Linked DNA regions of Homo sapiens: regions 1, 3 and 4 are each linked to region 2. Evidence: promoter capture Hi-C in 16 types of primary human blood cells and fetal thymus (Javierre and others, 2016). All regions are on one chromosome and are shown on one strand. Each heading gives the region's core, a stretch centred on a gene start or on the middle of the fragment in contact. The rest is flanking DNA. Distances are from core to core; before and after follow the strand shown. Region 1 holds the start of TP53TG1 (TP53 target 1). Region 2 holds the start of GTPBP10 (GTP binding protein 10). Region 3 holds the start of BET1 (Bet1 golgi vesicular membrane trafficking protein). Region 4 holds the start of DMTF1 (cyclin D binding myb like transcription factor 1).

The links. Contacts are between HindIII fragments. The CHiCAGO score rates a contact against its expected background, and 5 or more counts as called.
Region 1: a contact is called between the fragment with the promoter of TP53TG1 here and a fragment that was not itself captured in region 2, in 3 of 17 cell types (non-activated CD4 T cells, total CD4 T cells and activated CD4 T cells). The highest score is 7.1, in non-activated CD4 T cells.
Region 3: the fragment with the promoter of BET1 here is called in contact with a fragment that was not itself captured in region 2 in 4 of 17 cell types (non-activated CD4 T cells, total CD8 T cells, activated CD4 T cells and 1 more); the score reaches 7.6 in non-activated CD4 T cells.
Region 4: a contact is called between the fragment with the promoter of DMTF1 here and a fragment that was not itself captured in region 2, in 1 of 17 cell types (fetal thymus). The highest score is 8.9, in fetal thymus.

The regions. Positions count from the first base shown.
Region 1 is chr7:87,342,286-87,349,346 of GRCh38, reverse strand. It overlaps TP53TG1 (TP53 target 1), which reads left to right and starts at 3,855. Exons shown (of 3, transcript NR_015381.1): 1 at 3,855-4,304. CROT (carnitine O-octanoyltransferase) reads right to left here and starts at 3,683. Exons shown (of 18, transcript NM_021151.4): 1 at 3,580-3,683; 2 at 2,917-3,007; 3 at 164-299. The coding sequence starts at 278. RefSeq lists a silencer at 3,658-3,867. The HindIII fragment of the contact is 3,653 bases long and covers 3,031-6,683 here.
Region 2 is chr7:90,345,111-90,351,625 of GRCh38, reverse strand. GTPBP10 (GTP binding protein 10) reads right to left here and starts at 4,910. Exons shown (of 10, transcript NM_033107.4): 1 at 4,852-4,910. The coding sequence starts at 4,884. The region is part of intron 1 of LOC107986715 (a long non-coding RNA gene); the gene reads left to right. RefSeq lists enhancers at 4,665-5,094, 5,305-5,444. The HindIII fragment of the contact is 6,192 bases long and covers 1-5,379 here.
Region 3 is chr7:94,001,591-94,008,672 of GRCh38, reverse strand. It overlaps BET1 (Bet1 golgi vesicular membrane trafficking protein), which reads left to right and starts at 4,318. Exons shown (of 4, transcript NM_005868.6): 1 at 4,318-4,475. The coding sequence starts at 4,457. RefSeq lists enhancers at 3,752-4,381, 4,392-4,441, 3,896-4,501, 4,502-5,108. The HindIII fragment of the contact is 1,547 bases long and covers 3,641-5,187 here.
Region 4 is chr7:87,148,103-87,155,171 of GRCh38, reverse strand. It overlaps DMTF1 (cyclin D binding myb like transcription factor 1), which reads right to left and starts at 2,719. Exons shown (of 18, transcript NM_001142327.2): 1 at 2,617-2,719. DMTF1-AS1 (DMTF1 antisense RNA 1) reads left to right here and starts at 2,679. Exons shown (of 2, transcript NR_136253.1): 1 at 2,679-2,870; 2 at 3,514-3,749. RefSeq lists enhancers at 2,524-3,085, 2,931-3,170, 3,086-3,649. The HindIII fragment of the contact is 3,514 bases long and covers 1,424-4,937 here.

The sequences.
Region 1 (7,061 bases), core at 2,606-5,105, 3.0 Mb after region 2:
TTCTCACTGCACTCTGCAACTCACCTTGAATTCCTTCCTGCAAGAGATCCAAGAACTCTAACTCTCTCTTAGAGTCTGGATCGAGACCCCTTCTCCAGCAACAGTATCACAGTTTTCTAAGTTACTAATAATATTAATATATACTAAAAGATTATTAACATACCTGATTCAAGGTATTTTTTTAATGATTCTTCAAGTGAAGGAACAGGCAGTGATGGAAGAGAATCCTGGTACTGAAATGTTCGTTCTTCAGTTGATTTAGCCAATTGATTTTCCATGATAAAATCACAATAGGAAACCTAAAGAAAAGAGAGAGAGCCCTCACAACTTCAATCTCATAGATAGTGTTACGTATCCTAGGTACAATTCACAATTCACTAAACCAGTATTTAGGGACCACAGCATATCTAGGACTTGGTACCAGCTTTTATGAAATTTATAAATCTGTCAGATAGAGAAAACCAACTTAAAAAGAATGTGTAGACACAAAGTGCTAGAAGTAAAGAGTGATCAGTGGGACTGGTATAATTAGTTACCATTTATTGAACACCTAGCATTTGCCAGGTACTCCAGTTTGCATTACAGAAAACATGTGTTAGCTCTCTAACTTTTATGTTATCTCTGAAAGGTGGCATTCTTTGCAATTTTACATATGAATATATCAAAACTCAGAAATTTAGTAACTTACCTAATGTCAAACACAGGACCCAAACCCAGATCTGTTAAGACTACAATCTTTCCCCTATACAAAACAACATGATAGAAGGTAAGGGAACCTGCAGTAAATCTTAGTGGGTAGATAGTATTTGATGTATAGAAAAGGATTATGTGTTGATATTGCATTGATATAGAAAACTTTGGAGCACAAAGTACAAAGAGGTGTGGAAGTGTCCAACTGTAGAATTAAAGATTATTATAGAATACATAAATCATATGACAAGCTGCTTTAATTGCACAGGTCGTATGAGGTCTACACAGAATGGTCTCAAGTGTTCCAAAGCAATCTTGAACATATTGACACGTGTATTAATTGCTATCAAAGAAATCTAACTCAAAATGTGAATAAGGTATACAAATGCTAAATAAAAAATGAGGTTTCTCAAAGCCTTTGTAAATTATCATATATTAATTATATTAAATAATGTAATATATTAAATGTAATTATATGTTAAAATAGCAACTGAGAAATCAAAGAACGTTAATATTGAATTTGAACTTCCTATTCTCTCAAAAACTATTTTTTAAAACTGATAGCAACGCTAAACAAAGTATTCCACTCATAGGTTACAGAATCGAACACTATCAAAAACATGGACACAGAAGAGACTATTTTCAGCTAATACCTGTTTTCCTCTGCTTTAACAGAATCCTGAGTTGTAGCTGTGCATACAGCCCCCAGTTTTATCTTTCCTACCCTCTCTTGGAGCTCAGTGTGGCTTTGTGATGACCTTGTGTGTGTCACTTCCAGGTCATGCTCCCAAAAAGGAATGCATGTGTTCTCCCTGCACTTTCCCTCCTTTTTACTACCTGCTAGGTAGTGACGAACTAAACAGCACCATGGCCTCATTTATGGAAGTCATATATGCAGGATTGCAGAATCTCCCTACTAGTCCTGGACTCCTACCTCTAGATGTATGGAAAAAAAAAAACTTCTATTTTATTCATACCATTGTATTTTGGGCTTTCTATTGTAGGGAGAAGAGCTTAGCCTGTACCACTAATATAAAGAGATAATTTGAAAATGAGAAATAATAATTAACTCAAAGTTCTTTAGCTTCTTTCTATCTATTGACTTTGGCTGCACACCATTTTGACCATCCATAAAAATGGGTTTGTACCTAATGGAAATGTAGATCTGGATCCAAGTACAGACTCTGCCACTTTCTAGCCATGTGCCCCTAGGGCAACCAACTTTAAGTGAATTTCCTTATCTTAGAGTGGTTAATCATACAATTCAATAAAGTCAGAATTTGTTTTCAATGCCTGTGAAAGCACATTATAAAAACAAAATAATCCTGCCTGAAACCACCATATTGTGGTAGGCACAATTACTATGAATGGCCCCCAAGATTCCACCCCTGCTAATCCCCAGAACCTGCGAATATGGTGAGATCATTACTCCTGTGATTGTGATATTCTCTACAGAACTGACCTTAAAATAGGGATATTATCGAATTGGAACTAATCTAATCACTTGAGTCCATAAGAGCAAAGAGCTTTCTCTGGCCAGTGGCAGACAAGTAAGACTGCTTTAATGCTTGAGAAGGATTTGTGGTGTCTTTGAAGATGCAGATGGCCTTAAAGAACTGAAAGAGGCTCAGGCTGACAAACAGTAAGGATATAGAAATGTCAGTGTGAATTCTACCAACAATCTGAAATAGCCTGGAGGTGGATTCTCCCCTAGAGCCTCCAGAAAAGAATCCAAATCTACAGAAACCTTGGTTTCGGTTTTGTGAAATTCTAAGCCAAGTACTCAGCTAAGCCCACCCAAACTTCACATTTACAGAAGCTATGAGATAATACATTTGTGTTGTTTTAATTGTTGCATTTGTGTAATTGGTTAAGGCAGCAATAGAAGACTAGTACACACATACAGAGAAGATAAGCTATTCTGTTTACCTCTGTGCCACTTAATAGACTCTAGAAAACTGGAAGCAAGAGTATTAGTTACATACCCACTATAGTGCTTAACCCACCAACCGGTACACATTAAAAATATAAATTATTGGATTCTTTCTTGAAGAGTTTTCTTGAATTCTCAACCACAAAGATTAAGTTAAATAAGATGGTTCCAATAGCACTAAGAAAATGATTATGCTAGATTTAATTAGAATTGACTTTCTGGGGGCAATTAGATATGAATTCACAGAAAGTGGAAAAGAACCACGAACAATACGTGAAGGAATTGTCACATACCAGTACACCAAGAAGATGAACTGCTTGAGACTGCCAGGAGCCTGCTGCAACAATTGTTTTGAGATCACAGGGAACTGGACTAAGTCGGTGACTGTGGGAAGAAAGAAACAAGCTTAACAAATATTTAAGAGGGAAAAAGAAATGAACAAGCTAGTGAAAGAAGGTGGAATGCAGACAAACTAGGAGTTGGGAGTTCCCAAGACAAACTTTTCGTGAATCACTGCAAACACACGCAAATAGTCCACCTGCTAGAGAGCAGGAGTAAATGATCATACAATTAAGTAGGTTTCAGACAAGTACACCTTCCATTAGACGGGTTCAAAGGGTAGAGGATACGTTTTCAGTGGCTGGGTAACAGGTTCGTCGCAGAGTGGCAAGGGGTAGAAGCAGGAGCAGAGGGCAATGAGAGCTCGGAGGCTCTTCCCACCAACCCAAGAGCAACTCTGCACTCAAGAGGCCATCAAGTGAGAGAAATCTAAGCACTACAACGGAGCAGCCCCGCGGCCCAACCTTGAGGGTACCCCTGAGACCCCAGCAGGCGAGATGCTTGATGACACTACTCCCCCACCAAATCCAGGCACCTTTGCGGTTCTGCACGACTTAACTTTCCCCCGCCCCCGAGTTGAAGGATTAGGGGAGGGAGGGAATGCTGCTTCAACGGACCTGTCCGTCCTCACCGCCCGCGCCTCGCCGCCTCTGCCGCAGCCTCAGCCTGCAGCAGCACCGGCTCGCTCCCCCTTGGGCCTCAAAGGTGCGGGAATTGGACTGAAGGCCGCTAGGGTCCCGCCCCGCATTCGCCGGGGAACAGGATTGGATAGAAAGCCGCGAGGGTCCCGCCCCTCACTTTCCGGGGAACGGGACTGGACGGACAGCTGCAAGGGTCCCGCCCCGTGCCTGACGTCGGGGGCGAGCCGGGCCTGCGCGGTAGTGGGACCCGACCCTGTCTCCAGTGGGCGTCTTGGGCCCCGGCTCTATTCTGGGCTGCGGGCCTGGGAAGGGCTCGCCGGGTGCCAAATGAGCTGTCCTAACTCTGCGGGGCTGCAGCTTCCTGCATGATGCTGGGGAGCTTGGCGCCTGACCCAGGATCTAGAAGGCACTCTGGGCAGGCCGCGCTCCGCCCACGAAGGTACCCAACCCTCTGGGATAGATGCAGGAAGCGATGGTTAAGACCCATTTTCACCCAACTTCTCGCCGCAGGTCTGGCTTACCACACGCTCCTCCCCATTCCCAGTGAGCCGCTTTTTGCAGCACCAGGCGAACACTTACACCAGTGCTTTGTAAAGGAATCTTATTGTCCACCCCGTGTCTTGGCAAAAGAACAGTGATCACACAGATTCCTACTTGGGCTCTTTCCTTTAATCTTCGGAGGCTGAGTTTGCCCAACTCAGGTATGCCGCAGCACACTACATCATCTCGGGTCTCCTTGCTCTTCTGCAGCTCTTCATTGCTACCCAAGTTATTTGAATACCCCAGGGATGCTTACCCCCGGGCCTATCTGATGTCTTTTACTGTTGTGCCAAGAAATGGAATCTTTAACCAGAGTGGAGCTACCCAAGTTCTAGAAGATCATAATGTGATTGACTTAGTTTCACAGATTAATTCATTTTGCTTTTACCTTCTGAAATAAAATATACTGTTTCATTTTTAATTTTAAATACACTGTTTCATTTTTTTGTGGAAGGAAAGACCAAATGTTTACACTGACTCTGAACTAGTTATCAAAGATAAAGATTTAGATTTCAAATTAACATGTCATGACAGGCCCCATTCCTTTGTCTGTCGTTTCTAACTCCTTTAGCAGTAAAGTTTGACCTGAAGGGAAGTGAGGCTATGTGTAACTGAATGTTCCCTTTGTGTAAATATTCATAAGTTTTCTACAGAAATATTGTGTTTGATTACAGTACAGCTTGCTGGAAGTGTTTCATAATATATGGCAGACGTACTATTCTAAGAAAAGTTCTGAATTTTGAAACATATCTAGCCAAAAAGATTTTAAATAAGGGATTAGGAATTTGTAGTTGTAATTTCTGAAGGTGTGATAAAGAACTTTTTCTTTCATATATAAGTGCGATGCTCTGGATGATGTTAAAGTTTGCTTACAAGATAAAGTTTTTAAATTGAGTAACTAAAAACTACTCAGAAACCTTCGTTGTATTTTTTTTCTCCTTTTTAGTGAGTCTTGGCATCTCTTTAAAAGTTTATGCATGTTTAATGCCTGTTGGTGCATAGAATTTAGAACCATTTCGCTTCACTCTTTTTCCTACTCTTGTTGTTTATTTCAATGGAAACAAGATGTTTCTGTAAAGATTCCTGAATTATCGGATAGACAAAAAGGTGTGGGAGTGAAAAAATGAATGGAACACAGATTTGAGTATGTAGAAAAAAATCTTTTAAAATATGTTATACTGATAAGCATATGTACCCCAAATCACCAAAAACAGGTATTTTAAAATATGTTTGGCTTCAAAATGTGTGATATATATTTTAATGAAAGATTCCAAATTATGTTGCATTCAGGTTAAACTTGAACGAGTTTGCATTTCTTAGAGTGGAGCGGGAGATATTGGCTGGTAAGGAAGATGTTTTAGGCACTTGAAGTATTTGTGATAGCAAGAAGTTGTTCCAAGATTAAAAATTGACTATGAGTCAAAGTAACTTTTTGGAGGAAAATTTGTAAGTAGTACAAGTGGTGATAATTTTTTAAGTTGCCATTAAAAAAATCTTTTATTTTTGTTCTTCTGTAGTTCTTACTCAGCATACCACAAATTGCAAAAGACTTTATAGATAAGTCTAGATAAATTTCACCATTAAAAAGTATTAAAATGCTAGACTAAGAAGTTCATGTTTCAATCTGCATAACTGGCTTCCTGCTAAGATTTGTGACTCTAATAAGTAAGGAGATATGGTAAATAGCCCTAATCTATGGGAGACCTGTAACCTCCTTTCATTCTGATGTATAAAATGAACATGTTGAAGAAATAATTTTGTGATGTTTCTTCTTTTTAATGGGGGGGCAGTAGAAATATGGTCATTTTGGGAAGCAGCCAACAGCAAATTAAAGTACACTGGACGCAAAGAGGGCAATGTAGCATTAAAAATGAACTCCACTGCCAACAGCAGATGAACAGTGTTTGATACAAAAGGTCTCTTTTTAGTACTAATCATTGATTTGGGGTTGCTTTTGATGATATTTACAGTACATGAAAAGTTGCCACCAAAATCTGAGGGGAAGAGTTAAGATAACTATGATGTTTTTGCATCTCAGAAAAAAATACCTTCTTACTAAACAAAATATAACATTTAAAAATTTTGTTAACATCTTTGTTGAAATATAATTTACATACCATAAAGTTCGGCCATTTAAAGTCCACAAATCAATGGTTTTACTATATTCACAGGGTTATGCAGTCACCATAAGCTAATTTTAGAACATTTGGTTCAAATATTTAAAAAGATTATTTTCTACATACTCAAATCTCTGTTCCACTCATTTTTTTCAGTCCCACAACTTTTTCTATATCCAAAAATCCAGGCATCTTTACAGGAACATTTTGTTTCCATTGAAATAAATAACAAGACTGGGAAAAGAGTGAAGCAAAGTGGCTCTAAATTCTGTGTTACCAACAGGCATTAAACATGATTCATCAACTGACTGATGAATGTATGAACCACTTTTTGTTTGTCCATTCATCAGTTCATGGACATTTGGGTTGTTTCTACCTTTTGTCTATTTAAATAATGGTACTATAAACATTTGTGTACAAGCTTTGTGTGAACAGGCTTTCAATTAGTATTTTAGGAGTGGAGTTGTGGGGTCGTATGTTAACTCTATGTTTAACATTTTCAAAAACCGTCAAACTGATTTCCAAAGGAACTGTACCGTTTTTACATATCTGCCAGCAATATGAGTTTCAATTTCTCTGTGCCTTTAGTTACAATAACAATATAACAGCCCTTGCTATTGTCTTTTAAAAAAAATACAGCCACTCTAATGAATGTGAAGTGGTGTCTTGTGGTTTTGATTTACATTTTTTTGTGAAGACTAAGAGTGTTGAGTATTTTTTCATGTGCTTATTGGCCATTTATATATCCTCTTTGGAGAAATGTTTATTAAGATCCTTTTCCCATTTTTTAATTAATGCACA
Region 2 (6,515 bases), core at 1,034-3,533:
ACTTATATACAGATATTTTTCAATAAATATATTAGAAAAATTTTTTGAGCTTTGCAACAATTTGAAAAAACTTACAAAGCAAATAGATTGGAAATATTGAAAAAATTAAGAAAAGCTGTGTGTTATGAGTGCAAAAAATATATAGATGCTAATCTATTTTGTCATTTACTTCCATAAAATATACACATATCTATCTTAATTTTTAAAAACTAGAGATGGGGTTTTGCTATGTTGCCCAGGCTGGTCTCAAACTCCTGGCCACAAACAATCCTCTTGCCTTGGCCTCCCAAAGTGCTGGAATTACAGGCATGAGCTACTGCACCTGGCCACACATCTATTATAAAAACTTAAAATTTATCAAAACTTACACACACACTTACAGATCTTACATGGCAGCATTTGCAGTCAAGAGAAATGTAAGCAAATGTAAAAATGCAGTATTAAATCATAACTGCATAAAATTAACTGTAGTACATCGTGGAATACTGTAATAATTTCGTAGTTACCTCCTGTAACTATCCCGGGATCTCAAGTGTCCCAAGTTGCCACTTAAAAGGCCATGTGATGCTAATCGTCTCCCCATGAGCAGTTCATCTTGCCAGTACATTTTATAAGTCAGTAAAAAGTAATCTCTCACAGTTCTCTTGCATTTTTCATCATGTTCAGCGCTACACTGTAAACCTTGAACACCACCATGGAACCCATACAAAGTGCCACTAGTGATGCTGGCAGTGCTCCCAAGAAGTAAAGTCATGACACTACGATAAAAAGATGAATTGCTTGATATCTACCACAGATTAAAATCTGTAGCTGCGATGGCCTGCTATCTCAAGATAAATGAATCCAGAATAAGAATCAGTGTAAAAAAAGACAAAAATTCATGAAGCCACTGCAGCAGCTATGCCAAAAGGTGTGAAAACCTTGCACTTTTTGTGAATTAACTTTTTATCTTGTATTAAAAAGGCAACTTTTATGTAGATGCAGGATTCCTATTTTAAAAACATAGACTAATACAATAAAAGAAAAAGTAAGGTTACCATATGACAACTTAAAAGCAAAAGGAATGTGAAGGATCTAAAGCTAAAGAATTAATTGCCAGCAAAGGATGATTTGATAATTTTAGAAGGAGGTTTGACTGTGGAAGACAGTTCTAGATTCCTCAAGAATCTAGAACTAGAAATACCATTTGACCCAGCCATCCCATTACTGGATATATACCCAAAGGATTAAAAATCATGCCACTATAAAGACACATGCACACGTATGTTTATTGTGGCACTATTCACAACAGCAAAGACTTGGAACCAACCCAAATGTCCATCAATGATAGACTGGATTAAGAAAATGTGGCACATATACACGATGGAATACTATGCAGCCATAAAAAGGATGAGTGACATGGATGCAGCTGGAAACCATCATTCTGACCAAACTATCACAAGGACAGAAAACCAAACACCACATGTTCTCACTCATAGGTGGGAACTGAACAATGAGAACACTTGGGACACGGGGGGAACATCACACACTGGGACCTGTCATGGGGTTGGGGGCTGGGTGAGAGATAACATTAGGAGAAATACCCAATGTAAATGACAAGTTAATGGGTGCAGCAAACCAACATGGCACATGTATACCTATGTAACAAACCTGCACGCTGTGTACATGTACCCTAGAACTTAAAGTATAATTTAAAAAAAAAAAAGAAGAAATAGGTTTGGCTTTGGCTTTAGAAATATCAAGATAACAGGTGAAGCAGGTTCTGCCAACTAAGAGGCAGCAGATGAGTTCCCAGATGCCATTAAGAAAATCACTGAGACGAAAGAATATCTCCCAAATCAGGTTGTTAATGCTGATGAAAGTACCCTATTCTGGAAAACATGCTACAAAAGACATTAGTAAGGAAGAGAAGGGAGCACCAGGATTTAAGCCAGGAAGGGATAGGCTAACCCTACTGTATTGTGCAAATGCAGTTGTGTTTGTAATCAGGACTGTCCTTATCTATAAAGCTGCTAACCCCTCAATCTTGAAAGGGAAAGATAAACATCAGCTGCCAGTCTTTGTTGGATAAGAAGGCCTAGAGAACAAAAACCTTTTCTCTGGATTGGTTCCATGGATGCTTTCTCCCTGAAGTCAGGAAGTACCTTCCCAATACGAGACTGACTTGTAAAGTTCCTCTGCTAATGGACAGTGCCCCACCTCCCCGCTACCCAGAACCCCATGAGTTCAACATCAAAGGCACTGAAGTGGTGTCCTTGCCCCCAAACACAATGTCTGTAAATCAGCCTCTAGATCACGGGGTCGCAAGGACCTTTAAGGCTCATTAAACATGATTTTCTACGAAAAGGATTGTCAACCATGGAAAAGAACACTAATAGAGAAAACTTCAGGAAAATCTGAAGTTTACATAATTGAAGATGCCATTATTATTGAAAAAGCCATGAAAGCCATAAGCCCCAAACAGTAAGTTCGTGCTGGAGAAAACTTTGTCCAGGTGTTGTGTTGTGTTATAATTTCACAGGATTTACAAAAGAGCCAATCAAGGAAATCATGAAAGAGGCTGTGAATATGCCAAAAACGGCGGGAAAGTGGGTAAAGGACTTCAAGATATGGATCTTGAAGAAACTCAAGAGCTAACAGCCACCAAACCAGAGGAATTAACAGAAGACAGCTTGATGAGTGCTTCAGATCCAGTGCCAGATAACAAGGAAGAAAACACAGAATAAACTACCAGAAAAACGAACATTAGATAATCTGGCAGAAGAGCTCCTATTGTTCAGGACTGCTTTTGACTTCTTTTATGACATGGACCCTTCTGTGAAGAGGCACTGAAACCAAAGCAAATGGTGGAAGAGGTATTGGTACCCTATAGAAACATTTTTTTGGGGGAAAGAGAAAAGCAAAAGCATGACAGAAATTATGATGTACTTCCATAAAGTTACACATAGTGTGTCTGCCTCTCTTGCCTCCCCTTCCACCTCCTCCACCCCCACCCCTTCTGCCTCTGCCACCCAAGAGAGCAAGACCAACTCCTCCTCTTCCTCCTCAGTCTATTCAACATGAAGACTATAAGGATGAAGACCTTTACAATTCACTTCCATTTAATGAACAGTAAATATATTTTCCCTTCTTTCTGACTTTCTTAGTAACTGTTTCTTTTCTCTAGCTTAATTTAAGAATACAGTATATACTATATATATATTTTATATGTGTCAACTGACGGCTTATGTTATCAGTGAGGCTTCCAGCCAACAGATTATTAGTAGTTGTTTTGTGGGGGGAGTTGAAAGTTACATGAAGATTTTCAGCTGTGGCGGGGGCATCTCTAACCCCCATGTTCTTGAAGGGTCAACTGTATATCCAAAGCTACTAAAATACCCTTCTGGTATCTTTTATTTTCTTTTTTTTGAAACAGGGTCTGGTTCTGGTGCCTGGGCTCGAGTGCCGTGGCACTATCATAGCACTATCATTGCTGCAGCCTCAAACTCCTGGGCTCAAGCAATTCTCCCACTTCAGCCTCCCAAATGGCTGGGACTACAGGCACCACACCACCCCGACTGTTTTAAAGATGGGGTCTTGCTATGTTGCCCAGACTGGTCTTGAACTCCTGGCCTTAAGGGATCCTCCCACCTCAGCCTCCCAAGTAGCAAGAACAATAGGCTCACCTACCATGCCTAGTTCCTTCCTGTATCCTTTTCACTTGCTCAACCCTTCCTCTCTTCCTCTTTGCTCTGTACTACATGAAATACCGCCATTTCTACATGCCATTCTGCTCATGCTTTTCCTCTACTTAGAATGTCATTTGTTTTTCCTATCATAAATCCACCTAAACGTCATATTTTCTAACGTCTTTCCAAATTCCTCTAATCAATTCTCTGACTTTGCTGGCTCTCCCAGCAATTTGATTATATCTCTATTATTACACCTTTATAAATCTCACGCTGCATTTAGTGTTTACCTGTTTCCTTCACTAAATCAAGAACTTCTTGTAGGTAAAGGACTTACGTATTAACCTCTTAGGCTATTAAAATCAAAATAACTTAAGGAGTAATTTCTTAAATTCATAATCCACATCTCTAGTCATTTAGGATAGCTATTATAAAAAACAAATGGGATTTTTTTTTCAAGAAAGTTGAAATATTGACCATTCTGATATACTCGAGGAGAGTTTCTACAGTTCCATTAAATATGTAACACTTTTTTCCTGCTCTAGATTAATCAGATTCAGGGGTTTAGGAGCCTTACTTAAAAGGAGTATTTTACTCTGGTCGTTAGAAATAAAGTAATGGCCAAATATGACGCAGGCAACGTTTCAAAAAGCATTACTGATAGGATAAGATTTAAAAAATAAAAATTCAAAGCAGTTGTAAATTTTTACGGAAACGATTCTTAAGACCGACACCACACAAAAATCGACCTAAATGTTCTGCAGGAAGGCACATCAATTACACGCTTTCGTGTCTTCATAAAAATCCATTAGAAAAACCTTAAACAGCGCACTCAAGGAGAAATATATAAAAACAGGCTGTGGACATTAAAGGAAAAAAAACCACCACAACATTTGGGCCACAGCAGGCAGGTATCCCAGTTCCTCATACCACGTGCACACTATGTCTCTAAAGAACTTCAAACCCTGCCCCTGCCCCCAAACAACCGTCCAAACCACGCCAGGTACACACACCACTGTCACCGCTTACTGACAAAGCGCCACTACAGGAGGGGCGGAGAAGTCTATGGGAAAACCAAGCAAGGAAAAGGCCGCCACGAAGACAGTAGTGGAGAGACAGGGGAGCAAAGAAGAACCAGAGCTGTCAGCGCTAAGGGGACCAGGCTGAGGGGACCCGCACGGACCTTTCTGAACAACACGCAACTGCAATGCACCATGGCTGCAACAGGCCAGGAAACCTTCTTGCGGAAGCGGCACAAGCCGCAGTACAGCGCGGCCTTTTTACGTCATCCCCTGCCGCCGACGCGATTTCTCCTCCGCCCACACCTGCGGACTGGCGCATGCGTTGTGTGATGCTCTCGGGCGCCACCAGCCCCATGCGCTGTGCTTTGCACCCCACGGGTGGGGAGAGAAGGCGTTTTATCTATTAAAACACAGAGATAATCTCGAGAAGCCGTGGGACAAAGGACAGTAGGGCGTAGGTTGCGTGTCTCAGGAATTAACATTTTGAATGGAATGGAACTGAAGACTCAGCAGCCTTGGAGCAGCTTTTATGCTAATTGAGGAAACTAAGAATCTTCACCCTCAGCGTGAAAAAACCTCCAACGGACCATAAAACCAAACGTGTAAAAGACACAGAAACTCAACTGGGAAAAAAGAACCCCCAAAAGCCGTTAGTTCAGTGACGAGCTGAGTAGTCTCCAGCCAAAGCTTCCAGGAGACCATGAATTTAAAACTAGCGGCCGCACAAAGTTTTATTGAAAATAATGTCAGGATCTGAGATCTGTAAGAGGACTCTCCTGTGCAGTAAGAGAAAGAAGCTTGTTTACAACTGTCAGAAAGTAGCTTCTTGGAGTCGGGAAGACGGGTTTTTATCCGTCATTTGAAGCGTGCCTTTGTGAGAATTAAGACACGATGTGAAAAATCCCTCTCTCTCTTGATTACTTTTCAGGACCAGAAGAGAGTAGCTCTCCCCAACCCCTCATGCAGCGAAAAAATGTATGCAGCTGAAGTAAACGGCCCTGCACAGCGTTGCCAGCCGTATAACTCTTAACAACCCAAACTAATAAATCCTAGAAACCTTTCATACTTTGATACGATATGGCTCTGTGTCGCCACCCAAATCTCATCTTCATTTGTAATCCCCATTGTGGAAGTAGGGAAGTGATTGGATCATGCAGGGCTGTTTCTCTCCTGCCGCTCTCCTGATAGGGAGTTCCCACAAGAGCTGACGGTTTTATAAGTGTTTGGAAGTTCCTCCTTCTTTCTTCTCTCTCCTGCTTGCCATGTGAAGAAGGTGCTTGTTTCCGCTTCCCCTTTTGCCATGATTATAAGTTTTCTAAGGCCTCCCCAGCCATGTAGAACTGTGAATCAATTAAGCCTCTTTCCTTTATAAATTACCCAGTCTGCGCAGTTCTTTATGGCACTGTGAAAACTGACTAATACCTCAATGTGACAGTGTCTTCTACTCCTCACTTAGGACAGTGATTATTTGGAAAGACATGATGTGAAAACCCCGTCTTGATTACTTTGCTGCTACTGGACCTTCTGCTTACAACCACCAATCAGAAAAGCTGTAGTTGTCATTTAACCTGCAGTAGTTGTATTTTCCCTCTGTGGATTACTTTAATGTTGAATATTAACACCAGCAACAGATGTTGATTACTATCAGTGTTCCTACCTCTCATTAATATGAACATTAGGTTGTTGCTGTGTAGATGTTTTTAATTTAATGACATTTGCTGCCATTAAGATTACTATCTTACTAGGTTTTCCTATTGTGTCAGAATAGTGTTGAGCCCAATGTACTTATTTTCCAATGCCTATTTCTTGTTAGTGAACACAATCT
Region 3 (7,082 bases), core at 3,069-5,568, 3.7 Mb before region 2:
TCCCTTTCTTCTTTCCTTTCTCTTGGGGCAGTACCTGTATACTCTACTCTCTTGCTTCCCTGTGAATTTCACTGCTCAATTTAAATGTTTCATTTTAATTCTATCTGTGGATATATATGTCCTCTGTATTCACTCATTCCCTCCTTTTTCTCTACCAATTATGGCCCTATTTCCTTTGAAAATTTCTTTCTGAGGACCAGGGCCAGGTTCAGGGGCCTGCAACCTTTGCAGTTGCATAAGGTTCCTTAATCAGAAGGCCCCCAAACTTGGCTTAATGCTCTGTGGTCACTGTCTTGAAATTCTTAATAATTTTACCTTTGGCCTTAAGTTTTGTATATAAAGTCTTATGGAACAAGAGATAGTGCCCACGATTGCAGGAGATATGTACAACATGCATTTTCATTGTTCTTTGCCACTTCATTTGAATATTACATTTGCAGTGACCCAGGAACACAGAATGCCAGTGGACCCATGACGCATGGGAGTTCAGAAACACTCAAAAAGAGTACAAAAGGTGTGTTAAGTTTGTGTCAGAATAAGTATGGACACTGACAGCCCCAAAAGGCCACGTGCTCTGCTTGAACCAGAACTTCTTCCACAGAAAGAAGAAAATGACCAAGGAACTCTATCACATACTTTTTTATCTTACATTGTTGTGTTAGCCAATTGTATTAAAAATGATGGCATAAAAGGAAAAGAATAGATAAGGCAACCCCTTGCTCTCTTTCTTTTAAGTCCCTCCTAACTCATCAGTAGGCTGAAGGTAGAATGTTGGTAGAGTATGTGCCTGTCAAGACATGAAATAAAATCTGTTGACTTAGTTTTGATGCAGTGTTTTGACTGCTCTGCCATGGTAAGAATGAAATACAGATTCATGTGTGAGGTATCTATTTAGGCCATTCTTGCATTTTTATAAAGACGTACCTGAGACTGGGTAATTTATAAAGAAAAGAGGTTTAATTGACACATGTTTCTGCAGGCAGTACAGGAAGCATAGTGCCAGCATCTGCTCAGCTTCTGGTAATGCCTCAAGGAGCTCTTACTCATAGCAGAAGGTGAAGCGGGAGAGGGCAGGTTACTTGGTGAGAGTGGGACCCAGAGAGACAGGAGGTGGTGCCACATACTTTTAGACATCAGATCTCGTGTGAACTCACTCAAGGGGATGGTGCTAAGTTATTCATGTGGGATCTGCCTCCATGATCCAAACATTTCCCACCAGGACTTACTTCCAACACTGGGGATTACATTTCAACATGATGTTTAGTTGGGACAAATATCCAAACCATATCAAAGTACAAAATACCAAATGTGTAATTTTAGTGATTTCACGAGTAGCGTGCTCTTATGTTTGCATTTAAAACTGTCATTGCACAATATAAAGATCAAGGGTAAAATTAATGCTAATAATTTATTTTTTTCTTTACTCAGAAGAATATTAAATAGCAAATAAAAACACCATGACAAGTTGGTGTGGGGAGGGGAGGAACGATGGTAGGGAGATTACAGAAGAAAACAGAAGAAAGAGAAGTTTTGTATCTTAATACCTTTAACTGAACTTTTCCCCTGTTTTCTGAACTAGAGGCACAACATTTTCATTTTGCCCTGAGCCCCACAAATTATGTGTCTGGCTCTGCTGAGGACTTTAAGGTTGGAATTGTGTGCCTAATTTTTACAAACTATGGCTGAAAAGCTTGCCATCAGTGCTAGTAATATTCCCAAATTATGGAAAAGACAGATCAAATTGGTGACTTTTTGCAAACTCCTTGAAAATATTCTTCGCATTCTTAAAACTTTTAAGTAAAACTCATTCTTTCTCAAACATGAATAACCAAAATAATTTTTAAACACTCTATTTCTTCTTTAATGGCTTTGCTTTATTTTATCACAAGTATTACAACATTATTTTCCTTCTATTGGTCTTGAAAATACGCGGTATTTCTGCTGTCCTATGGGTTACACAGACTTTGATTGGCCAGCATAGTAACTCTAACAGCCATGTGTTTTCTGGGCTGAGTTGGGAACCTGACCATCATTTCAGTCTTCAGGGAAAATGTGCTTTAAATACCAAACAACAAACTTAGAAACAAACTTTGTCCCATAGCTTGTTTGTAAATCAAGAGCTTTTTGTTTCTAGTTTACATTTTGTGACAGTTCAAATATGATACCCGAGATACTGAATTTGCTTCATGATTGAAAAATGTGTTAATGTTTATTGAACCAGTTTTGAGAGCTTGGTATGCTCTTTTCCCTTGGATTGGACTTGAAATTTGGTCAGGAAGAGGTAGGACAAATGGGCAGGCAGGAAGCAGACAGATAGGAGAAAGAAAAGTTCCAATTTTGCACCTCGATTCAGACATTTCCTGCTTTTATTCTTGCTTTTGTAATTACTAGAAGGAATACTTAATATTATTTTAAGTAATTTTTAGTCCTTTATCTCCTAGAGACCTACAAACATTAGATGTTTTCTGTGAGACTATCCTGTGAGAATAGAGAAGAGGTTCTAAATGCTATTCATCTCTGTGAAATTTATTTGCTTTCAATCAGTAAGAAAAGTTAAGGATTTTAATTTAAAAAGGAAAAAGCACAACGAGAAAAGTGAAAATGATTCCCTCTGATCGCTAATGTCAACTATGGTCACATTTAATAATTCTTTTTCTGCACATTGAGTTCATTTTTCCTGCCTCTTCCTTTGAGTGCAAATTTTTTTCAGATGACATTATCCTAATTTGATACTAGCAACGTTAGCTAAAAACAATAATTGGATTTTTTAGGTAACAACTTCAATATGAACTAGCTTTGCCTTACTTCAGTTATATTCTTAGTACATTATATATGTTTTCCTTTTAACTACATTTCATTCTTATGTCTTCCTACCATGTAAAGGAAGCAGTATATTTTATGTAATCTAAATGATTAGTTCTAGTAAATATTACCATATTTTCAAAAATAACGATTTCTACATTTCCATCAGCAAGCCTTCTGTAAGGCAATTTTTAAACGTTTTAATTATAGAACATGCATTTTTTTAACCAAAGGACTGTCACAGATTTTAAGTTATAAAGGGATACCTAGCTATCATTTCTTTTATTGAATCTCCATCTTTTATTTGTAATAATTGTCCCTGATATTATGCTTATTTAATTTCATTGCTTTTAGAAAATGGCGGTTTTATTTTAATGATTTTTTTCTATCAAAACACTATTGGATAAAGCCTCCTTCCCAGGTTAATAACTCTTATTAAAAATTGTTTTCATGTGTTTTTTACAAAAGCAACTTAACGCAGAGACTTATGCCAGTATTATAGTCAATGTTAATAATGTCCTGGGAAACTATGAGGAAACGCTAAATGATCAAAGATCACATATTCGGAAATCTCTAGTGTGGAGACGATTCCACTGCCATATATACAGCAGCAACAACAAAACCGCAGACACCCAGTGAATTTTGATCACCTACTGTGTATCAGGTTTTTTTGTTTTCCCTTCAAAAACCACGATTTCATCGTATTCTCACGATAAATCCTCTGAGATAAAATGAAATTCTAGGATTAACCTCGATACCAGTAACACCTCCAACTCGCCAACAAGTTTTAAACCCCTAATTGGCACACTGCCTTGTGTAAGCAGTATTTCAATAAGCTTTGTGTAAGTTAAAAAAAAAAAAGTGGGAGAGCGTTTAGGGGTCCTTTGGTCCCCATAACAACTAAAAGTCTTGGTTCTTTCTAGAAGTACAACAGATGCAGTAACAGGGAACTAACTATTCAGTGCCTCTGACCAGATCCCGCAGCCTTTCCTAGTCTGCTCTCATCTGAGCAGGAGTCCTACTCAAAGGAACCTGGTTTTCTTTCCTTTACTGGATACTACAAGGCACAAATCGGTTACTTCTGTGGGTGTCGGATTACTTGTTTGTAAACTGAGAAACCTGGACAAAGTTTTCTCTAACTTTCCCTGAATCGTCTCTGGAGGTGAGAGGGAGTTCGAGGCTAAATCAGGAAAGATACCCCAACCATCCTCTTGTGGGTGGGGAGGAGCAGATCTGCTGGGTTAAACTTGGTGGTCAACAAACTGAAAGCAGCGACCCGCGGGCTGCGAGCGGAACAGCGGGAACGTTGGATCAGAGACCCAGAATCAGAGCCGCAGTCGAAGCCGCCCCCTTTTCCGGACGCCCCGTCCGCTCCTGGAACCGGGTTCACATCACGCCCTCAGCAACACGTTATGCGTTGGTGAACTACATTTCCCAGAATGCCTTTCAACCTTCTTCCCAGGGCTCCAATGAGCGCCGTGGTGACGCCATCATCCGGCGCGGTGTTTAGACTCCACTGATGTCGTGGCGCTTTAGGGGAAGAAGTTGGTGTTTCGCTGGGCCCTGGTACTGAAGACGCGGTCCGGGTCGCCCCTAGCTGTTTCCTACTCACCCAAAGCCCCGCACCCGCCTTTTCTCTCTCTCCTCTGGCAGGATGAGGCGTGCAGGCCTGGGTAAGAAGAGGGCTGAGGTTCGAAGTTCGGGGCCCTAGAACCGGGAGCGCTGGGGCGCGGGAGGAAATCGAACCTGTCTTATGTTCCTGGCATTTGGTCCAAAAAACAGGATGTCTAGAGGGGATCTTTGGGGTCCATGTCGAGTGGAAACACACCATTTGTCCCAGATCTTTGGAATTTCCTTAAGTTTGAGTCAGATTCAAGTTTGGATGGTAGGCTAGAGAAAGTAGTGGACTAGGGGTGGGTGTGTACAGGTGGCATCTCAGTGGTCGAGTGTTTTAGTGTTATTGACTGAGCGTGGTTATGGACGCTGCTATGTTTTCCAAAGCCCGACTCCGGTTTCTGTTTCCCTACTGGCCCTGGATCTTAGTTTCTTCAGAAGCGGAATTTGAAGAGTGGGTGGTTGCACCCAAAGCACGCTAGTAATGGTCGTTAATCTGGTAACAGTGAGTTACAAAGGTAAATGTATGTGTCATTATTGTTAAAGGTCCTGGAACTGGAACTTCTGGGTCAAAGGCGATTTCTTAATCTGAACCTTGTGCCACGGTTAAGGCAGTAGAACGTGGTTAAGGTTTGGCGACTTAACATTTGATCTTTACCTTTGGGGTTAGGAAACTGGCTCATCAGCAAGAATAAGTTAGACACAAGGAATTTTAATGGACCCTTATAGTAACGCACAGCTACTAGAACGGCATTTTCTGGTTCTGAAGCTTTCTCTTAGGACACGATTTTTTTTTTAAAGAAGACCCCGCTAAATTAGAGTGCAGTATACTTCAGAAAATAAATGAAACATTTGAAAAAAGATATTACCTTTCTCAGTCATTATAAGATTGAAAAAAGAAAAAAAAAATCCCCAAAGTGTCAGATATTTAAAGTCAGTGAAAGTTGCCAATAACCGTAGACTTGTTTATTGATCAATAAATTGTAGTATGAGAAAGTTTTTTGTTTTTTTAATGAAGTTTTTATGAATACTTAGATCATAGAAAATGGGGCCAGGTAAATTGAAGAGAAAAAAAAAAGAAATAATTTTGAGCAAGTTTAGCTTTATATGTCTAAATGTTTTTCTTGTTCATCATCCTTAATACCAAAAAAGATTTATTGTGTGCTTGAGTAAGCTCTAGGTATACAGTTGTTTGTTGCCCTGTTTGTGATCCCCAAAGCTTCCAGTCTAGGTGGGGAGTAGGAATATGTGCAAAGATAAATTGTAGTACAAAGTGTCGCTATACATCCAAATACCAGATAAGTTCTACATATAAGGGATGGTCTCAGAGATTTCAGAGATAGATCACTGTGTACTTTGTGGGGAAGATCTTTGTGTATTTGGTGGAGACATAGGAATTTGAAGTAGACCTTGAATAATGGAGAGTGGGGGAAGTGAGTTCCAGATAGGAGGAACTCAAAAGAAGTAAGGGATTATGATTAAGCCAGTTTGGGTGAAGTAGGGGATTCGGGATCACACTGTGGAGATCTTTGCATGCGAGGCCAAAGAGTTTGGATTTCATCAGTAGGCCCCTAGGCCCTTTTGAGTATTTTCCTGCTGCAGTGTGCCATGTTAAATTGCAGGAAAGTGACTTGAGTAATGGTTCTCAGCCCTGACTGTACATTAGAATCCCTTGGGAAGTTTTTAAAGTATTGTTACCTGGACCTCAGCTCAGCCAGTAAAATTAGAATTTCTCCAATTTAGAGCCCACTACCTTCTCCTTTTTTCCTTTTTTTTTCTTTCTTTTTTTTTTTTTTTTAAAAAAAAGCTCTTCTGTGATTGAGAGGAGAAGTAATTACCTAGGTAACTACTATTGCTATAATTTACATTGGTGTGAAGTGACAAAGGCTTTTGTTACACATTTTTTCTTTTCTTTTTTTTTAAAGTATGAATGCATATTGACCTGAAATTTTAAATTTGGGATCATAGTGAATCTGATACATATCCATAGGCAGAAGCTGCCACACTTCACATGAATCTCTAAATGGTTTTGTTAGCTTACTGATAGAACCTATCCAAAAAAGTAGCGTTTATCTAAATAAACAAAGGCTGAGGATGATCTTCAGTACTCACTAGCTTTTTTACAACTTTTCATAGCAGTACACCACCAGAAGAGAAGTGGCTTTGTTTGGAATAGCAATTCTAGCATTTTATTTGGTTTTTACTTTTGTCATTGTATTTGGGATGGGTCATAGTTTGAGGGAAGATCAACTCTTTAATAGGAATGTGCATTGATATATTTCTGGACGATAAATACAACAAGAATTTCACTTTGAATAAATGGAACAGCATGGAAGAACTCTAAAATTAAAATTAAGATAGGCAAAAGCAACTAAACAAAGGAAAGAAAAAATAGCAGTTAATTTATAATGAATTCCTTGGTGAAGTTGTCAAATGTTTGAATTCAACCAGTCAGTAATTACTTATTGGGTAAATGTTATATACTCAGAACCTCAGCCACACAAAATAAGAAGACATTCTTTCTTTAAGTATCTTGGCCCTTATTAAACTACAGTTTGCACAGAGTATCATTGGTTAACAGAGTAAGAATGCATTTTTAAATGGTGATTTTAATATTTGACTGAGCGGAAAAATATGCCCACTCCTTGAGTTCTTTTATAATAAAA
Region 4 (7,069 bases), core at 1,470-3,969, 3.2 Mb after region 2:
ACACTTCTAAGCTCCCTCAATATTTTAACATCTATGTGCCAGGCAGTAAATCCTTAGGAATACTTGTTTCACATTATCCCATTCATCCTCACAGGTGTTAATTTAAGCCAATGCACTTAATGAAGCATGGCAAAGGCAACTGTTTAAAATAATGAGATGTTATTTTCAGGACATGTAAGTTTATTACACCATTAATAAAAATTAGAGTCTGTAGATTTTGGAGAGATAAATGAGGCTAATAGAAAGGTAAGATTTTTTGCGGAGGAGGTAAAGGCAAGTTTTTTGTTGTTATTTAAATACTAACCAGTGATATCAAACTAACCTTATAAAATACATACACTATCTCCCCACCTTTAAAGCACCCCTGGGGTGTAATGAGATAACTAAAGGATTGAAAAAAGAGATCTCTAAAAAAAGGACTAGAGGACAGCTATCTACTTTTGATATGAGTCTCCACCAGTAAACATTTCCCAACCATGCTGTTTTCAAAGCTCAAGTCATAACGCCCAAACTTTGATTTCTTCCCCTCAAAATACTTCTAAAACCTGAACACTCAGAAAAATGTTTACATAAAATAATGTATTCATATAACTGCAACGTATGAACTTAAAGTTCTAAGAAAGATGCAATGCCCAGTACTTACTGATTAAATGTTGATGAAGACAGGGCAATAGCATTTTGGCTCCACCATTAGCTCAACTGCAACCAATTAAAGAGATTCACGCAGAATATGCAGGTGCTAAATCAGTCCCCAAAAGCATATTTTGGGGTGAGCCTATCAACTAAAATAGTAAGAAAAAAAATTAGCTTGTTTGGTGGCATACAGAAGCACCTAGTATCGAGAGTTAAAATGAGATAAAAATCACCACAATCATGAAATGTATTTTTCACACCTGTAACATAATGGTTTTTTCCAGATACAATCAGGCTGGTTTTTGTGCTTTCTGTATGGAAGAAAAAAATTATTCTCACACCAAATTGGATTCTCTCAGCATGACAATTTTTGTAACGTTAAGGAATGTAGCTTTAACCTTTTTTCTCTAAATCTTAACAGAATTTCTAAATCCTAACCAAATACATGAAATCCTGTCTCTAAGTACACCATAAGAGCAAAAAGATAAGATTTTGGTGTATCGCCATAGTCATTCTTTAAATGTTAAAGTGATGGCAAATTATTCAAGTTATTAAAAGACAGTAATCCTCAGAAAGCTATTTGAAATATAATTTCAAAACCAGCTTAAAGAAATTTGAAGTAATGAAAAAACATGAAAACCCTTAACTGAAAAAAACAGATTTTGCAATACTTTCAACATAGTGGAAGAATATTTTCGTATTTGGAGCTTAAAAGCTACAAATGGTTTTCTCCCACGAATTAAAAATACAGGTATAATTTAAAATTTTCCAAATGGCGTCACTTTAAGCTTAAGACATGTCATATTAAAAAATAATTCCACAGAATATGCATTTTGTAGGACGTCCCAACATGCAGCCTCGACTGTCAGAAAGGAGGCACACATAATCAAATCCATGTACATTAAAAAGAGGTACACAAAGATGAATGAGTTGCGAAAAAAGCAACTACACAAATTCAATGAGAGAAAGGGAGGAGTCCTGACTCATACTGTATACTATTATCCTTTTCCTTATCTACACCGAGTATTTTATATAAAGACATATGCTCTATCATTCAATTGCACAAAAGGGCACTTGGCCACTTCTACTCTCAAATCTGCTCTGGAGATTGTGGTAAAACATTCTACATACCTCCCTGAAGAAATTCTCAAAGCGAAGTACATTTTAGAGAACAAAGTGGACTTAACAATTTTAAGAACTTTCTCGGAACTCGGCACAATAGGGTAATTACAACTTTACAGCCGCATTTTCCGTGCTCCACCAGGACTGTCCCCGCGCCCCAGCCCACATCCCTTCTTTAAAGAGAGTCAGACTGAGAGAGACGGTTCGGCCAGCTATCCCGATTCTCTATGTCTGGGCCGTGAATCGCCGAGCAAGGCTGAACCCCCGCAAAATTACAGAAGAATCTAAAGCGCAAACGAGGGAAAAGAACAAAAAAGCAAAGGGGGGGAAGTTGGGTCGAGACCCACCCCCACTCTCTCGACCCCACCCAAGCCTACCTCTCCTACGCTGGACCATAAAACAAAACCGAAAACGTAACAAAAATAAAAACTAAAAATAGAACACCACGAGAAAACAAGTAGGGCTTCCTTACTGTCTCCACTCCTTCTGGCCCAGTTCTCTACTCAACCTCCCGGCCCACCCCACCCCCCAGGGGTCCCGGCGCCATTTAGCTCCTCCGAAGCCGCCGCCATTTTCCGCCCCCGCCGGATCGCCGCTGTGCCTCGGCAGCCGCTCGCTTCCCTACTCTGCAGCCTGAGCCACGGGCACCGCCCGGCCCTAAGAGGGAGGCCCTGGCCGGAACGTGCGGGGACGGCAGCTGCAACGTCAGGAAGGCCAGGCTCCGACCCCGCCCGCAGTGCCCCGGCGCCGACAGCTTGCGCCAGCCGGCGGGAGCTAGCGGGCAGCAAGGGGGCCGGACAGGCTCCACTGGGCGGAGCGGCCCTGGCGGCGGTTGGAACCTGAAGGTTCCATCGCACTTACTTCCTGTTTTGGGTCCGGGCACTTTGGAAGAACCAGGATGGAAGCTCCAAAAAATACCAGGATGGAGGAAGCAGCCACGGGCGAGAGTGGCTGCAGCTGGAGTGAGCGAGCGCGACGAGCCACCGGAAACGGAGCTGCGGCCGCGCCCCGCCCCCAGCTCCCCGCACGCTGCCCCTCCCGCTCGTCTGTCCCGCTGGCGGCCCAGCGTGCTGGCTGTACGCGTCACTTCCGGCTGTGTCGGCGCGCGAAAAAAGGTCCTGGGTTGGAATGTTTGTACTGGTCTGTGGCGGTGGTTGTCGGCTGTCCTGCCAGGAAAACTCGGCACTGACTATCCCACTGCTGATGCTGTAAAAGAGGTCCTTCTGCTATGACGCAACTGTGGTTCCTCTGGTTCTGGGGACACTTAGGCCTCGCGTGCCGATTTTCATAGTTCCCTGTGGCTCCGAGCCGAGGGAGCCGCGGTGTGGAACGGAGGGAACCAGTGATCTCAGTGCTGAAGAAAACAGGGAGTGTGTGTCTTCATACTTGATTTGCCTTACCGCAGGGGCATAATATGAGATATCTGGGCGTGTTAAGTCGTTCTTGATGAAATGTGTCCTCTGTGAATGTAGTCTCACTGTTAGACTAGGAAGATGCTGTTTTGCTGTGCCCAGTTCCTCTTAAAAGTACAGATGCTCCTTGGGTTGCAGCCGTATAAACCCATCCTAAATAGAAAACGCGTTTTAATACCCTTATAAACGAAAAGGATAAATAAGCCTTTGGGTTCTGTAATGTGAGCCAGCATTCTTTGAGTGCGTATGTGACAGGTAAATGTTTTACGTATATTAAACTCATTTAATGTTCATAAGTTCTAAGTGCATCGCTACAATTATTACAAATGAATCCCATTTTACACAGGAACCAAAGAGAAGTGAAGGAATGTGTCCAAGGGCTCCCAAGTTGGCGGTGGAATTAGAATTGAAGCCTCAGCTCCAAAGCCTGTGTTCTGAACTACCCGGTTGCAGTTCACAAAATACACTTTGGCAGTACTTTCATAACGAAAACAAATGATTACAACCAGTTTACAAATGCTTTGCTTTACTGGAGGATCGACATGTTTGACTAATTTTCAAAAATAAATCTCAGAAGCAGCATTTTCTTGTGTTGATAACTTTATTACTAATTTGTGGCACTCTGCATTCTGTTGGAGTTAAGCCGTGTATCATTCCATTTTTTAATAAGTACATAATAATGTTTATGTAAGCAAAACTATGAGGCAGAATAGTATCGTGGTATGGACTCAGGCAGTCAGACCTGAGTGTGAATCTTGGCTCCATTTCTTAGTAGTGGATATGGCACTTCACCTCTTTTAGCTTTGTTTACTTTAGGAGTAATAAGATGTACCTTCCAGAATATTGTAGACAGCGTAGTTTGCATGGAATCTGACGTGTATTAAGCATTAAAAATGGTAACTAATAAACCTTAAAGCCAGGAAAGCAATACAACTACTCAAAGAGCAGTTCTAATAAAATAATAATTACATATGCAAAATTGTTGACATTAACATTGATAAGGTGGTTCCTAATGAGCCATATTTTTCATAAGACATAACCATATAGGATTATTTTTGCTAAGGCACAAAATAGTGATATATAAATTATAGTCGGGCTATCCATTCTCCTCTGCTAAATTTTAGGTCAGCCTGCACGCTGCTAACTCCCCGCAAAAAGTCAAGTGCATCCTCATAACTAAATTCTCCCTTTCTGGTTGAGTTTCTTTTATAACTACCTTTTCCCAAGTCAATTGGTATTTATTTGGGGATGACAAATGTATTTTAATATTAGCTTAATGCATAATTTAAAAAAATATAATAACGTCTCTATCCCTTTAGCTTGAATAATCAATGTAAAGACTATCCATAACACAACTTGATTCCTAGAGCAATTTTCTGCAGTTATACTTCTATGTTATCCGTACCTCATTATTTAGTCAATGTGTACCTAGGGAATGGATGAGGTTTTAAATATTATCCAAGGATTTACCTATTTAGGAATTAAATGTTTTGTAGAAAAATCATTAGAAGTATTTCTATCCTAAACAATAATTATTAAAGTATTTATAGCTTAGCTATGGTATTTACTGCATTTGCTAGTTAAAATTGACTTTGTTGGACTCCAGGTGTCTATAACACTTTTGTGAACCTCATCAGTGATTGATGATGAAATTGCCTTTTATGACAGGTTGATATATTAATATAAAGTATTTCAAATACTGAGAAGCAGGTTCTGTTGTTTCATGATCATCTTTTGCTAATTCAGAAAAAAAAAAGATGTTTATAAGCTTTTGTTCAAAGTAAAAGAAAATTACAATTACTGAGTAATTTTCTTTCTACACAGGCTCTGAGTCCTGTTAATATAGCTGATGGGTATACACTGTAGGGCCTTCCAGCTGATGGAGATTGCTGTGCTAATGGAGGAATGAATAAACTGTCCCAGTTATGCCCACACACCAGGCTTTACCAGGTGGTCTCCTGTCTCAGATTCTTCCTGTAGGCTTCCCTCTGGGCCTTATGACACTCCATCTTACAATCCTTTTCCCGCCTTGCATTTTGCCTATGTGTCTCATCTCTGCAATCCTTTTAATACCTCAGCCTGGTGACAACCTCTCTATATCCACTTCACTTTTTTCTTCTTTTGTGGTAAATCTTTGTTGAGACCTATTGATAGAATATTAGCCAGAAAAGTGTTTCCTTATCAAGGGAATGGAGAGCTAAGGCGTCCAATACTCCTAGCCAATAAGGATAAAAATTTTTGTTCTGTCTTTGTAATTTTGGTGTGCAAAACAAAACAGTTCAGATACTTCACTAAAACAGGATAATATCCAGACCCAGACTCAAAGACCTGTTCCTTTATAATCTAGCATGGAAGAGAGAGGGACAATGTATTAGTTAACTAAGCAATAATTGCCATGTTTTGTAAGTTCTGAGAAAGATACAACTTGGGTGCTCTGAAAGTGAACTTTTACATAGAGAGTTCAGAGTAGGCCTTTCTGAGAAGATACTTAAGCAGAAAGGTAAGAATAAAGAAGCATAGTAGGGGGTGCAAGGTGGGAAAGCATTTGTCAAGCTAGTGCATGAAAGCATATTTGCAGAAAGCAACTGGCTTGTAAAATGTTTATAAAATGGTGAAAGCAGAGCACTGCCAGGTGATAGGCTGTCCCTTGCAAATGTTAGCTGAATTTCTCAAAAAACTTTATTGTGGTAAGAACACAACATGACATCTGCCCTCAATAAAATTTTAAGTATATAAAACATTATCATTGACTATGGGTACAATGTTGTACAGCAGATCTCTAGAGCTTATTCATCTTACTTGAAACTTTATGCCCGCTGATTACTAACTCCCCATCCCCTCTCCCCAGCCCCTGGTAAACCACCATTCCACTCTGATTCTAAAAATTCGTCTATTTTAGATACTTAACATAAGTGAAATCATGTAGTATTTGTATTTCTGTGACTGGTTTATTTCACTTAGTATAATGTCCTCAAGGTTCATCCATGTTGTTGCATATTGCAGAATTTTCTTCTTTTTTAAGACTGAATAGTATTCCTATTCCTCTGAGACTAGAGCTCAGTGCATGCCCAGACATAGCAGAAATGGGCCATCTTACCCCTTTGCCATGAGCTTTGATTTGCTAATATATGGCACAATACCTTAACTTAGCAGACATTTAAATGTTTGTTGATATTAAAGATAATTATCTTAAGCCAGAAGACTTGGAAGCTAGCCATTTCTATTCTTTGGCAAGAACAGCTGACTACTGGCGATCACACAGTATTTTTCCAGATAGTGTTGCTACTTGGACAATTCTGGACTAAAACAAACACATGTTACCTATTTTTCAAGTGGAAAGAAGTTATTTTAACACATCACATATTTGGTGTTACTCTAAACCTTATTGCCCAAGTCTTGTGCATCTAGATGCAGTATTTTAAGAATAGAAGCTTGTCATTTTAGCCAGCAGATGTCCCTATTGTTCAGCAGGAGTTTTTTTTTGTTTTTGTTTTTGTTTTTTCTTTCCCAAGTAGTAACTTCAACAGTAGATAGAAATTTTGGGGCCTTCATTGCTAATGATATGCTGTGGCAGACCAAGGACAAGCCTCAACAGTAATAAAGCTAAAGGGATAAGGATTCTGCTTTGAAATCAAAATATGAGAAAGCTCTCTAGAATTAAAAGACTTCTGGATTAATCCCCTTCCCTTCTATTCACTGTACATTTAATTCCTTTGCACAGAATATGCAGTGAAACAGGAAGAAACAAGGAACTACGATAATGTTTATAACTTTCAGGAGTTTGCACATTTGTGATACACTCGGTCATTTCATTCAGCAGCTCTTCCTGAGCACCTCCTTTGGGCTGAGCACTATTTTAGGCACAGGAAATATGATGGAGAACAAGAGAGACAACCCTGCTC